Regions from separate parts of the Homo sapiens genome. Here region 2 is linked to region 1. The links are contacts of gene promoters, found by promoter capture Hi-C in human tissues and cell types (Jung and others, 2019). All regions are on one chromosome and are shown on one strand. Each heading gives the region's core, a stretch centred on a gene start or on the middle of the fragment in contact. The rest is flanking DNA. Distances are from core to core; before and after follow the strand shown.

What was found. Contacts are between HindIII fragments. The study calls those that stand out against the background at their distance.
Region 2: the fragment with the promoter of LHX5 here is called in contact with the fragment with the promoter of SDSL in region 1 in 1 of the 25 tissues and cell types used here (adrenal gland).

What each region holds. Positions count from the first base shown.
Region 1 is chr12:113,417,802-113,425,121 of GRCh38, reverse strand. It overlaps SDSL (serine dehydratase like), which reads right to left and starts at 2,742. Exons shown (of 8, transcript NM_001304993.2): 1 at 2,645-2,742. RefSeq lists an enhancer at 6,485-6,985. The HindIII fragment of the contact is 24,154 bases long and covers 1-4,773 here.
Region 2 is chr12:113,468,762-113,476,081 of GRCh38, reverse strand. It overlaps LHX5 (LIM homeobox 5), which reads left to right and starts at 4,211. Exons shown (of 5, transcript NM_022363.3): 1 at 4,211-4,756; 2 at 6,737-6,960. The coding sequence starts at 4,584. LHX5-AS1 (LHX5 antisense RNA 1) reads right to left here and starts at 4,079. Exons shown (of 2, transcript NR_126425.1): 1 at 4,000-4,079. RefSeq lists enhancers at 4,329-5,129, 7,227-7,320. The HindIII fragment of the contact is 9,096 bases long and covers 1-6,556 here.

The sequences.
Region 1 (7,320 bases), core at 1,493-3,992:
TCTGTGCCTGTTTCCCCTTCTCTAAAATGGGGATAAAAACAGTCCCCAACTCACAGGTTGTGGTGTAAGTTAATAAGAATAACATTGGCCAGGTGCAGTGGCTCATGCCTATAATCCCAGCACTTTGGGAGGCTGAGGCGGGTGGATCCCTTGAGGTCAGGAGTTCAAGACCAGCGTGGCCAACATGGTGAAACCCCGTCTCTACTAAAAATACAAAAATTAGCCGGGTGTGGTGGTGCACACCTGTAGTCCCAGCTACTTGGGAGGCTGAGGTGGGAGAATTGCTTGAACCTGGGAGGTGGAGATTGCAGTGAGCCAAGATCTCACCACTGTTCTCCAGCCTGGGCAACAGAGTGAGACTGTCTTTAAAAAAAAAAAAAGAGAGAGAGAGAGAATAACATCTGTCATTTGTTGAGTCCCTATTATGTGCCAGTCATCAGCTGAGTCCTCTGGAGACGTTATCTCACTGATACCTTGTGTCATGCTTTGAGCATGGTGACCTGCTTACCCTTACTTTAGCATGTTTACAGGGCACCTACAAGATGCAGGCCCTGACCTAGCAACAGGGGATACCACTGTGGACAAGATAGACATCAACCTTGGAGCTGAATTATAGCCTGATGAGATGGGCACTTAACAAATAACTGCATAGACAAACAAAATAATCAGAAATGTTGAAAACTTCTAAGAGGGAAACACGCATATAGGGAGTCCTAAAGAGAAGAACAAGGGGACCTACTTTGGGTATGGAGGTCAGGAAAGACCTCTTAGAGGAAGTGACCATTAAAACTAAGAACTGAGACAGGGCGCGGTGGCTCATGCCTGTAATCCCAGCACTTTGTGAGGCAGAGGCAGGCGGATCACCTGAGGTCAAGAGTTCAAGACCAGTCTGGCCAACATGGAGAAACCCCGTCTCTACTAAAAATACAAAATTAGCCGGGCATGGTGGCGCATGCCTGTAATCCCAGCTACTCGGGAGGCTGAGGCAGGAGAATTGCTTGAACCTGAGAGGCGAGGTTGCGGTGAGGCGAGGTTGCAGTGAGCCGAGATCGCGCCATTGCACTCCAGCCTAGAGAGTAAGAGGGAAACTCTGTCTCAAAAAAAATAATAAAAAATTAAAAATTAGACCCGAAAAATGAGAACCAACCAACCACACAACAAACTGCAAGAAGAGCGTGTACATGGCAGGACTATTGTGAGGATTCAATGAGCCTGCATGGTAAGGGCACCCATGTTGGGTGTCTGTCCACTTGGAATTGGGTCTCTCTTCCTTTTTGGTGAAATCCCCAGATTTTTCCCCTGGGGATCCTGGGATTGTCAGGATGAACTCCCCCTACTCCATAATCCTTCCGCTTTCTTGTTTTTTTGGTGTTTGTTTTAGAGACAAGGTCTCACTCTGTTGCCTGGGCTGGAGTGCAGTGGCACGATCATGGCTCACTGTAACCTTGAAGTCCCGGGCTCAAGCAATCCTCCCACCTCAGCTTCCTGAGTAGCTGGAACTGTAGACATGCACCACTGTATCCGGCTGATATTTTAATTTTTATAGAGATGCAGTTTTGCTGAGTTGTCCAGGCTGGTCTTGAACTCCTGGCCTCAGGTAAATCTCTTGTCTCTGCCTCTCAAAACACTAGGATAACAGGTGTGAGCCACCTGTTGGCTCACAACAGATGAGTCATTAACTCACCATTGACTCCATTTTATAAACAGTGAACCTGAGGTCCAGAGAGATTAAGTAACTTATCCAAGTTCACACAGTTAGAAACAGCATAGCCAGAATTCACACCAGGCAGTGTCTTTGGCATCTGTGCTATTAACCGCGATGCTATACTTTCTCTAATATACTAGTGTTATCGTTACTATTATGAAAGCTGCATGCATTTAATATTTATTGCCAATTGTCCTTTGGAACCAAATGCTCCTGGCTCAGTTTCCAGGCTTCCCCAGCCCTCTTGGTTATACTGACTCACAAGAGGACAGCAGGCATCAGTTAAATGAAAAAGCCCCAAGTTGCCAACAGCCTTATCAACCCCAGACCCCATCAGGCACCTGAGGTCTGGGACTGAGCTGTCTTGGCCCAGGGACACACACCTCTTGTCCCGTATGGCAGCCACCAGGGCTGAAATGGGGGACCTGGGTCTCCCTGCTGTGGAATAACCCAGGGGAAAGCAGGGGGCTCAGGCTCAGGTCCCAGTCATGCCAACCTTGGCCAAGTCACTTTTGTCACTGGGCCTTACCTGTCACATCTATGAGTTGAGGTAAGGACCACCAGTGCTGTCCACCTCACTTGTCCCCAAAGCCTTTCCCCAGAGGCCACCTTGGTGGCACTCCACAGCCAAATCCCTGGTGCCAGGGCTGGGACACCTCGGGCTGGCCCCTTGGCTGGCAGAATGCCCAACCCTGCCCCTCTGGCAGGCAGAACCCACTCTCGCCCTTCAGGGTCCCCAGCACAACACTTTCTTCTGCAGGGCACCCTGAATTCAATCGACATTCCCAGGAGGGCCTAGAACACGCTCAGGCCCTCTCACTCCCACCTGCTCAGCTTGGACTTTGCCCAAAGCCTCCCAAACTCCTGCAGCCTCTCATCAGCCTCTCATTCACACACACACTGAGCCCCAGGGGCCCCAGCTGGCCCCAGACCCCTTACCTCCCTGCCCAACTATCCCAGACCAGCGTGGCCCCAGCTCCTGCCCTCCAGCCTGCCAGGGAACCAGCTCTTTCCAGGAACCGGCTCTGTCCAGCTTCAGGCAGCTTCCGGCAACCTTGGTCCCTCCTCCTTTGTTAAAGAGAAAGCTCCAGACCCTAAGCCTCCGGGTGAAGACGGAGGAGGAGAGGGGATGAGAGCAACCCTCACCGCTTTCCCGGGCACTGCCTATGACTCATGCACCACCCTGTCTCATTTGACAGATGAGCAAACTGAAACTCAGAAAAGGGAACTTATTTGGCCAAAGCTTCCCAGACAGCAAGGGGCAGAGACAGCCTTTACCCCTGGCCCTGGGCCATCTCTTCCGGGATGCAGGCATCTCCATGTCTTCTCATTTTAGGTCTAGTGATTGTCCCGGATGCTGAACCACTGTTGGGGTCAGCTTAGGTCTGGGATGGGAAAACAAGGACAAGGGAACTTTTTTTTTTTGAGACACAGTTTCATTCTTGTCCCCCAGGCTGGAGTGCAATGGTGCGATCTCGGCTCACTGTTACCTCCGCCTCCTGGATTCAAGCGATTCTCCCACTTCAGCCTCCCAAGTAGCCAGGTTTACAGGCACCCACCACCACGCCAGCTAATTTTTGTATTTTTAGTAGGGACAGGGTTTGACCATGTTGGCCAGGCCAGTCTCGAACTCCTGTCCTCAGGTGATCTGCTTGCCTCTGCCTCCCAAAGTGCTGGGATTACAGGCGTGAGCCACTGCACCTGGCCAAGGAAACAATTATTATAATTATTATTTGTGACATGGGAAAGGTATATTTTTGTCTGAAGCACCTCTCCGTCTCGGATATTTTACACGCAGCATGAGAACCCAAGCAATTATTTGCTACTCAGATGAATGACTGACCATTCATTCATTCATTAAATGTTTATTGGACACCTACTATGTGCCAATCCCTGGAACTTTGGCCTCAAACAAAATAGCATGTCCTCTGCCTTCACAAAGCCCTTAGAGAGGGCCATTAGAGAGCACTTATTAGTGCTATCAGATGTTAGCAGCTGGCAGGGTGGGGCAGGGCTGTGGAACCCAGAGCAGGCACCCCGCCTGGCCCTGGGGGGCTGGGGAGGCTTCCTGGAGGAGGGGAAGTCTGAGTGGAGCCAGGAGTCAGGCACAGGGAGTGCAAAGGTCTGGAAATGAAAAACATGATATATTCCAGGGTCAGGGTAGTATCCAGTGGGGCTGGGAGGGAGAAGGCAGGGGTGGGGAAGCAAGTGGGGTTGAGGCTGGAGATGTGGGCAGAGATCAGAGTCCACAGGGATGCCTGTACCAATCCAGAGTTTGGACCTTACCCAGGGGCACTAGGGAGCCACAGAAGGCTTTAGGTGGGGGGAATGACATGGTCAAATTCATGTCTTGTCTCTGCACCATCTCACTGGGTGAACCTGAGCAGCTCGTGCCCATCTCTGGGCCTCAGTTTCCCTATGTGGAAAGTGGGAACAGGAAGACCTGGCATCACAGATGTTGTGTGTCCTTCTTGGGCTGTTTCTGATCTCCCCAGGTTTGATGATTAACTCCCAGCCACTTGGGGTTAGATGGAGCTGCTTGGCCGTGATCCTTAATGTGGACTCTGGCAAGTTTCTACCCATCCTCGCTTTAGACACACATCCATCCTTGTTGGGTGCCTTGTCCTGGACTGGGTACTGGGGACACAGAGGTGATAAAATCCAGTTTGTGCCTTGAAGTGGCCCCCAGCATGGAGGGGAGAGGAAGACACCCAATTCGGTAGCAACAATAACACTTCCTAAGATGACAGAGGGCAGAAAGTCCCCATAGGGTAGCTGGGGATGGGGCAAGATCAGGGAGGGCTTCTTGAAGTAGGCAGAGACTCAGCACACAGCTCAGACTTTGACAAGAAGCAGACTAGCTGCATTTAGTGCATGTCTACTGTACACCAACACGTGCATGCTGTCCAGCGTAACCCACACTGTTTATTTGTTTGTTTGTTTGTTTGTTTGTTTGTTTTACAAACGAGGTCTCACTGTGCTGCCCAGGCTGATCTTGAACTCCTGACCTCAAGCAATCCTCCTACCTTAGCCTCCCAAAATGCTCGGATTACAGGCAACAGCCACTGCGCCCAGCCCCCAAAGGTTTTTTAATAGTTGGCAATCTATTTCTGTGTGCATTAGGAAAGATGTGTGTATGTATGTAGGTATATATATATGTGTATACATATGTATGTGTATGTACATATAAAATATCAGACCCATAGTTTCATGGATATGATGGCTTAGGAAGAAGCTAAGGTAGGTATTAAAGTTTAAAAATGGAGCCTCTTTAAAAAATATATTAATTGGCCAGGCATGGTGGCTCATGCCTGTAATCCCAGCACTTTGGGATGCCGAGGCAGCTGGATCACCTGAGGTCAGGAGTTTGAGCGTGGCCAATGTAGTGAAACCCCATCACTACTAAAAATACAAAAAGCTAGCTGGACATGGTGGTGGGCGCCTGTAATCTCAGCTACTCGGGAGGCTGAGACAGGAGAATCACTTGAACCGGGGAAGTGGAGTTTGCAGTGAGCCGAGGTCGTGCTATTGCACTCCAGCCTGGGCAACAAGAGCGAAATTCCGTCTTAAAAAACATATATAAATATATATATGTGTGTGTGTATATATATGTTTATAAATATATATATTTGTATATAATATATATTTATATAAATATATATACTTGTATATAATATATATATTTGTATACAAATATACATGTTTGTATACAAATATATATGTATATAAATATATATATTTGTATATAAATATGTATATGTATATAAATATATATTTGTATATTATATATATTTGTATATAAATATATATATATTTGTATATAATATATATATTTGTATATAAATTATTAGTAGCAATAATAGTAGTAGTAGTTTCTGGCATGAACAAGCAGCATGCCTAGTAGTTAAAACACAGACCTGCAGCCAGGCTCTGATACAAATACTTGTTCTGCCACTTTCTCACTGTGTGACCCTGTGACCTTTTGTAAGTCACTTAACCTCTCTGTGCCTTGTTCCCTCAAATGTAAGATGGGGATAAAACACTACTTCCCTAGTACAGTGGATGTGAGGATCAAATGCATTAATGCAGGAAAATATTAGGACAGTAGTTAGTGCTCTGTGTTCGCTGCTGTTGCTTTTGCTTTATTTTGTTTTGTTTTTTGAGACAGAGTCTCACCATTCACTCTGTCGCCCAGGCTGGAGTGCAATGGCGCGATCTTGGCTCACTGCAAACTCTGCCTCACGGGTTCAAGGGATTCTCCTGCCTCAGCCTCCTAAGTAGCTGGGATTACAGGCTTGCACCACCACGCCTGGCTGATTTTTGTATTTTTAGTAGAGACAGGGTTTCACCATGTTGGCCAGGCTGCTCTCAAACTCCTGACCTCAAGTGATCTGCCTGCCTTGGCCTCCCAGAGTGGTGGGATTATAGGCATGAGCCACGGCGCCCAGCTGCTATTGTTTTGTATTGCTAATATAAAAGAGGTGATGGGACAATATGGCAAAAGTTGCAAAGGTGGCACGTAAGCGTTCAAAGTACCATGATGTCATTATATTACAGAATGCTAACAACTACCTGGAAAAGTAAGTATTATAATAAACCCTACATTGTGGAAATAGGGCCAGAGAGGCCAAGTCGCTTTCCCAAGGTCACACAGCAGTAGCAGAGTCAGGGCTCAGACCCAGAGGGACGAGGCTCCAGAGCTCCTGGCTTGGGTGACAAAGAGGATGGGCTGGGGAAGCCACGTGGCTGCATTGGAGAGCAGATGAGGCTGGAGAGGTGGGCCAGGTCACTGACCTGTCCCCACCAGAGCCATGTTCGTCAGCCAGCCCCTGTCCCTGACACCTTGGGCCGCAAAACACCCACCCCGGCCAGTCCCCTGGGTTATTCATTAAGCTTCATTACACCATCCTCACCCCTGGCTGACCTTCCTGTTCCCAGGGCAAGGGAATTGCGTGGAGAAGAGGGACGAAGCCTCTGACGCCTGAGATTAGCCTTTCCTTTCCCAATTTGCAGATTTAACCCTGGACTCTTCGTCATATGCTTCCCAAGGCCGAAGGCTTAGTTCCCCTAAATGGCAAAAGAGCTGAGGCTCAGGCAGCCCCAGCTAGTGAGTAATAACTGTGCCGGAATTCGGGTGCAGGTCTCCCAACACCCAATACAACAGAGCATCTTACCTAAGTTCTCAGACTCATCAACCCTGGCCAAGATGACAAATCACTGGAGCACTGGAGACCAGAGAGGGTCTCACACTGGGAGGTCACATTCCCCCTGGCTGGAGCTGGGGCACACTGTCCTCTGTAAAGGGACATGGCTCTATGTGTCTCGCTGTCCTAACCTCTCCCTACTGCAGCCCCAACACCTAACCGCCCCTTGATTGACCCCTTGTAAGTGTTTACCTTTGAGACCTTTATACAGAGGAACTTTCCCTCTGTCCTCTTGCCCTTGAAAAGGAAAGGAATCAGTGATCAAGGGAGAAGCTGAAGCACAGAAAGGTTAAGTAACTTGCTCCAGCTTGCCCAGCAAATAGGCCATGGGACCAATCTTCCAGGGACCCCACATCCAACCTGGATGCTCTTGTCCCAACAGATAGAAATTCACAGCCACAGCGTCTGAGC
Region 2 (7,320 bases), core at 2,962-5,461, 49 kb before region 1:
CCGCCGCCGCGCAGACCCGGCCGAGAGCGCAGCTCGGAGGCGCTCGCTGCGTTTGTTTAATGTTAAAGCCGCGCTGGCTCTTGGGGGTGGGGTGGGGGAAGTATGCGTGTTGGGGTGGGAGCGGTAATGATCGAAGTCGGGAGAGGACGGGCTGGGTCGCACAAGATGCCACCAAGAGAAGTGGGCAAAGCGCGCGCCTCTCCGGTCCCCCCAGCCACCTGGGCCCCCAGAGCGCGCGTTTCCCAATAAAGCTGCCACTCCCGGCCGTTCGAAGGAGAGGATGCTTTAAGAGGAGCCAGGAGAGACACTGGCTGCCAGAGAAGACCCCCTTTCCTGCTTGGCTGCAGAATCTCCCAGGCCGGAGGCTTTCCGGTGAGGAATAGGGAGGTGCAACTGAAACGACCTCTTCAACCCGCGGGTGGGTCAGCTCCAAACCTCTGGAAGCGCCCTCATTCCGGCCGCTGCCCGGTGTCCCGGGCTGGAGAACTCAAGAGAGGTATGCCCCACGCCCCAGCTCAGCGCTCCCCAAAACTCCCACCCCAGGCTAGTGTGCGCCTCCTCGCCAGTAATTAATTACCGAACTCAAGGGGGAATATGCAAACCGCATATTACTAACTCTACAGGGCTTAAGTGATTGGAAACAGATTATTATCTTGTTTGTCTTTTGTCTGTTTTACTTATCCCGCCGCCGTCTGTCGAGTTGTAATGTTGATACTCTTTACTCTAGGAGGAAGATTTTTATATAGTAAATTCCATCAACATCTTGTATAAGTGACATTGCGTCTCCATGCATTACCCTGTTAAGACACAAGCGGTTTATTAGTTACATATAGGAGGGGATTTCGCTGCCTGGTCGCCATCTGTTAGCGCTGTTAGGTCGGGATGAGTCTAATAGCTGGTCTGCTGGCATTTTCCGATGCTGTGCACCGGGGAAGGTGGTGGGCTAGAGAAGGCCGGGCGGGTTCTGGGCAGCTTGGCTGAGCCCAGGTCCAGGGAGTTCTCGAACTGGGGCTGAGCTGTACTGAGGATGAGGCCCCCAACGCAACTCTAGGGGACTGCAACAAGGGCAGGATTGGTGAGTTCCCCTACAAGAGATGGAAGATCAGACCAGGGCTTCTGGAAACAGAGTCCTCATCTCCTGCAACCAAACATCCAGCCCCAGGTGACTGACGCTCATCCCTACTCAGGGCTGCTCTCATCTTCTTCCCTCTTCCTACGACCTCCCTGGCCTGGCCACACGGTTGTTAGAGCCTGGCTATGCATTGAAGCTCTCTGGGAGATGAGGACTAGTGGATCTGAGATTCAGATAGAGCTGGGTACACAGGCCCCCAGCCACCACCAATGGGTGGGCAAAGCCTGGGCTGGAAACACACACCAGACAGGGCACTTTGCATATTTTGTGGGGTTTGGGGGAGAATGGGCTCAGTGTGCCTAGTCTGGAGCAGAGAAGAAAGTGGTTGGATGGAGGTTCTGAATGATCATGAAGCACGTGGTGGGGGTGCAAGTCTTCCCCCCACACCCCAAAATCTGCACGATGCAAAATAAGGAGCATTCATCTCAGCTTTGAGTCGGATGCTGGATTTGGAAGCTCCAGCAGAGAGGCCAGGGGAGGAGAACAAAAAAAAAGAGAGAGAGAGAAATGGAGAAAGAAAACAAGGGAGAACCAAGAGAAAATGAAACAGAAAGAGAACAGATTCTGAGCATAAGAGAAAAACGGAGACAGAAAGGAAAAGAGATATGGTGAGAACTCGGGAGAGACAGAAAAAGCCTAGTGAGACAAAGACGGAGAAGGCAGTACAGTTCACCTCTGCCGGGAGCCTGAGCACCTCTCTCCTCTTCGGGTTCTTATTTCTTTCCAGCTCTGCCCCTGCCAGAGCTCAAGGATCCTTTAAGCCCAGGCGGGCAGGGCCAAGTGCTGCCAGAAACTGCAGTTCCATTTGAAGTCTCTCATGGCCGAGCCTAGGAGGCCAAGTGAGATTCATCCTGCCTGTTCCTGGTTGAGCTGGGCTCTAACCAGCGTTACTACTATGCTCTGTAGATGCCTGTCCCCTGACAAGCTAGAGGGTCAGGTAACAGCACCAATAAGCAGAAGCTGCCCGGGTTAGGGATTCCTTTTCCAGCGGGCTGGCTGGTGAGTCAATGCTCCACTCTGTAACCAGCACTCACCAATTCCCTGTCCCTAGCAAGATCACCTCCCCTAGATACTGTGGGGGACAGTGCTAGGCCTGAGAGGAAGGGGGACAAGTGGGCATCCCTGAGCCCCAACACAGGCATCCACAAATCCTGCTCCCTCAACCTCCGAATCCACAAAGGTAAGCGCAGCTAGGAGTACACACACAAACACAAATACAAACATAACCCCCTCACACACACATACACACACACACACAAAAGCCTACAGGAGTTGCATAAACAAAAAACTACTGTTTGCACAAATACACACATTTGCAGGCACACACACACAGCGACTGGCACACAAACATAGCTCTTCAGAATTCTGCACTCACAAACACAACCAAGCCAGCTCAGTCTCATACACACAGGGTCTCAAGCATGCACGCCCTCACCTACACACAAACACACACATTCAGATTTTTCAAAGTACACCTTCACATCAATGCTTGCAAACACAGACACAAACACTCTTACGTGAATGCACACGTACACATGAAAACACCCTCACATTTATGCATCCTCAAATAAGCAAACACACATAGGCACAGACCAACAAAAATAAAAGTGCACACAGTGATAAACACAAACATTAGCAGGACCATACACAATTACAAACACACGAATCTGCACACACGAAAACGCACACGCAGAAATTTACTCACAGGATTGATGGTACTAACACAATAAACAGATGCAAAAATGGAATTCTCAAACAGCGAGTATACACTAACAAGCTCAGGAAACACACCCAAACAAACATTCACAGCCAAGTGCTGGCACAAACCCCTCCAGCTCCAGCCCTTGGTCCCAGGCCCTACTCCCTCAGCCCCCTTTCCAGAAGCGAAAGGCAAATCCTGGTTGCCCATTCCCGGCTTCCCCAACTAGGATCCCTGGTGGCCACGCTGGCCCCAGGGGAAAGGAGGCCTGGTCCCTTCTCCTACTCAGACCCACACACCCCCTCCTCACGCACACCTGCCAACATCCCCCCTCCCCCTTAACACACACACACTCTCTCTCCTCACACTCTGGGCGCCCTGCCGAGCACGGAACATACGTGCGCCGCTTCTCCTGCGCCCAATGAGGGGACGAACTTGCACACCCAGCCCGCACGGCGTGAATACAAACAGCGCTCTCATAGTCGCTGGTGTCCCCCGCCTCAGCCGTACGACCCACTCACCACAGTGCCCCATAGGCTGACCTGGAATCTGGAAGGTGCAGCGAGGAAAGGAGAGACGTGGTGAGTGCCACCTCCGAGCTGTCTGCGGGAAGACCCGTCCACCCTGAATCTCCCCCTGTCCACATCTCCCTCAGAGCCCCGTGAGCAGCGCACTCAGGCCTGAAACTCTGGAGTTCGGGACCAGGCCAAATGGCACCCCTCCTGCTCCCCCGCCTCCCCACCCTGGGCCTGGGCCTGGGCTCGGCGGCCGGGCGGGGAAAACTACCCAGGCCGCGCGGTCTCCACTAGCTCTCTCCATGAGAAAGGCCCGGCTGGGCCCCAGCCCCGTGTATGACAAAAAGAAGCCGGGGCCGGCTCCAGGAGCCGGGAGAACCGCGCTGACGCAGCTTCAGGGCGCAGAGGGGGCGCGGGGGTGGGGGAATCCAATCTGGGCTGGCTGGGCTGGAGAAGGGGAGCGAAGTGTGGGGCGTGGGGCAACTTCTGCAAGTTCCAGGGATGGCGAAGGGGGCAGGGGTACCTCCCGGACTAGGCCTTGGAACCCGTGACCCCCAAATATTTGTGAGGAGAAAGAGAGAGGAAGAGAGACGCAATTTTCGTTTCGCGCTGCCCCCGCCCCGTCAGCCCCAAACTGGAAGGTAAATACTTACTTAGCCTCCGAACCAGGTACAAGCTAATACTCAACAATACTGATGCCTTGTTTTTTTTGCTCTGTCCGGACAGCAACGCTGTAGCCAATTTAGATATGCTATAAATTTAAGAGGTTGCCATGGCCACGGTGCGCCCATTGGCCGCTGGGCCCCCTACGTGCAGCGCCACGTCACCAAATCTGAATAAGGATGCGCGAATTACGCGGCGACCAGACAAAGATGAGGATCCGGACCGCTTGAAAGTGGGGGAAAGTGCCGGCGCCTCCGCCACCGGGGAAAGCCGCTCCGCAGCGCCGAGGCCAGCAGCCACCCGAGATACCTGGGGAAGCCCGGAACAGGCGCCGGGGCGTGCGGCCCGTGGCATGAGGTTGTGAACGCCACCCGCCCCCCACCACCCCACTCCGGGCAGCCCAGCGCCAGGCCAGAGATTGCCCAAGGACTGGACCGGCTGAGTCTTGGTCCGGACCAGACTCGCCCTGCAGCTGCTGAGACAAGAGGCGAAGGGCAGCGGAGGGCCCGGCAGGCCCGAGGGCCAGGGGCCCAAAGGGAGGGCAAGGCGGCCGAAGCCGCCGGGGCGCGGGGCTATGATGGTGCACTGCGCCGGTTGCGAGCGGCCCATCCTCGACCGCTTTCTGCTGAACGTGCTGGACCGCGCGTGGCACATCAAATGTGTTCAGTGCTGCGAGTGCAAAACCAACCTCTCGGAGAAGTGCTTCTCGCGCGAGGGCAAGCTCTACTGCAAAAATGACTTTTTCAGGTAAGAGGCCGCGCCGCTCTGCTGCCTGCGCGCCCACCCTGCGCGCGCTCCACTGGGGCGCTGGGGAAGGGGATACCCCCATCCCCATCCCAGCCTCCCCGGATCACAAGCTTAGATGGGGAGCGGGCAGCACTTTGCTCTCCTCCTGTCCTTGGTCCAGGAAAGGTCCCGAGCCCAGGCGGAGGAAGAAGGACGCTGCTTCGCTGCCTCACGTTGGCTCGAGGCCGGCTCAGAGCGCTGGCGGGGCAGAGGGAGGAAGCCCTGACAAACTTGCTATCCACTCCTCTCCGCCCCTTCCAAGCAGCTGCAACCCCAAGACAGAAGCTTCAAGCCCCGTCCCGAGAGAGAGGAAGGATTTTTGCATGAGTTAGAGACGCCTGAAGGCTTCTCGCTCCAGGCAGAATGTGTGAGCCCATCGGCCGCAATCCCAAACAGAAACTTCTCAGCTCCAGAGGGGGCCCAGCGAGGAAGGTCTCCCCTGGTGATGGGAGGAGAGAACCTCCCCCACCCACCTCCCAACCCCTTAAACATTTCCTCCCATGTTGAAAAGTAGAAACGAAATCGAGGCTGAGAATCAGGACCTCTGGGGTCTAGACTGGGCTGTGGCACCTCCCCAGCCCCCCTACCCCTGTGGGCCCTGTGGCTGGCCAGGGCAGATCACCTCTCTGGGCCTCAGTTTCCCCAGCCTGGAAGCCACTGGAGTTTGGGGCAGCTGAGCCCTACCTGTTTCCTCTGGGCACCCAGAGCCGGCTTTGTGAACAGGAATTCCCCGCGCTGAGGAATGGGGGCGTGAATCACGCCACAGAGAAAGGCAGCCTGCCGGCCCCAGCGACTCCGCACTGAGAATTTGAATGGGAGAAAATGTCAGCCGCTCCTTTACACGTGTTAACTCCCTGGACCCGGAGGCCCGATGCCCCTAATGTAGCAGTGCTTGCAAAGTGCCTAATGATTTTTGATAAGGTGCATATGGCCAATTACGCTGCCGGATAAGGCCAAAAGTGACTTATGGCTTCTAATGCCCTCACTACATCAATGTCACCCAAATTCGCCCTGTTTAGAGACATGGGTGTGAGTAGATGTGGGGTCCCTAGAGTCCTGGGTCCTCCCCCACCCCACCCCCAACCTGAGCCTCACCCATCTCCTATTTCGGGGGAGGCTGGCTTTCTCCCTGAGCTCAAAGAAGAAAGAAAAGGAATGAGATCAGGAACGCGGGAAAGCGGGGATTTGAGAGATTCCTGTCCTGGCCTTGCAGGATCTATGATTGTCCTCTATTCACATTCCCCTGCTGCCTGCCAGGCCAGAGGTTTAGGGGGGCTGAAACTCATCCCTGCTCTCTAGGGTCCATCACTATGAGGCCCTGCTGTCCACAGCTCCTGATTAGCTCCAGCGGGTCCCAGAGCGGTGGATTGGAAAGCCTCTCCATTGGTACTGGAAATCAGTGGAAGGTTCCCTCCTTTCTGCTTCCTCCTTCCAGCCTAGGAGAAGGGCTCCCCACCTCATGGCTAGGCTCAGCCAGCCAGGCAGATTGGCCCTAGCTAGGCAGCAGCAGACTAGAAAGGATCCAGGAGGCAGAGCCACCAAGTGGCCCAAACCCTCCCCGCCTGGCTTCAAATCATTCATGGACTCTGAGTTTGCCTGGAGCAGCCCAGGCAGGCCTGGCAGGGGTTGGGTTTGGGGGAGGACATCTTGGGGTGCTCTGGGCTCTCTTCTTGGCTGAAGGCTGCACCCACTGCTCACCCCTTCCCAGCTCAGGAGAGTCTGAAAAGCCCCAGTGGAGGCATGGCAGTCCCAGTCCCAAAAGCAGCTCAGGACATTTGTCCCACTTCTCCCACTCTGGCCAGAGCGCTCAGGATTGGGGTTCCGTTTGACAGATATGGAAATGGGGACTTCACCGAAGCCAGGTCGGGTGGGAAGAGGTCAGGGGCTGGGGAGGGCTGGATGCAGTCCCACCCCATAGTGACAGGCACATTGTGTCCACAGGCGCTTTGGCACGAAATGCGCCGGCTGCGCGCAAGGCATCTCGCCCAGCGACCTGGTGCGCAAGGCCCGGAGCAAAGTCTTTCACCTCAACTGTTTCACCTGCATGGTGTGTAACAAGCAGCTGTCCACCGGCGAGGAGCTCTACGTCATCGACGAGAACAAGTTCGTGTGCAAAGACGACTACCTGAGCTCATCCAGCCTCAAGGAGGGCAGCCTCAACTCAGGTAGGAAGCCTGGGCCCCTCACTAGCCTTAGGCCTTAGCACCCTCCCACCGTGCCCAGCCTGGCACTCCCTACTTGGCCCCCGGTGTGCTGTCTGTGCTGAGCTTGGAGCTCATCAGCCCCAGGCAGTTCTAGGGCAAGGCAAGGGGGTTAGAGGCTAGAGAAGAGAAGTGGCTTTGGAGCAGGTTTTACAGGGGATCTGAGACCTGCCAGCTCTGCCTCACCCTCCTCCAATTCAGGAGCCTTTTCCAAGTTGCCCTCCTCCCCTAATTTGGAAGCGCACAATTCCCCCTTATGTGTCACTTGAGCTCCAGGTAATTTCTTGATGCACTGGAAGGACATTAATTGAGGTCTGGAGAGAG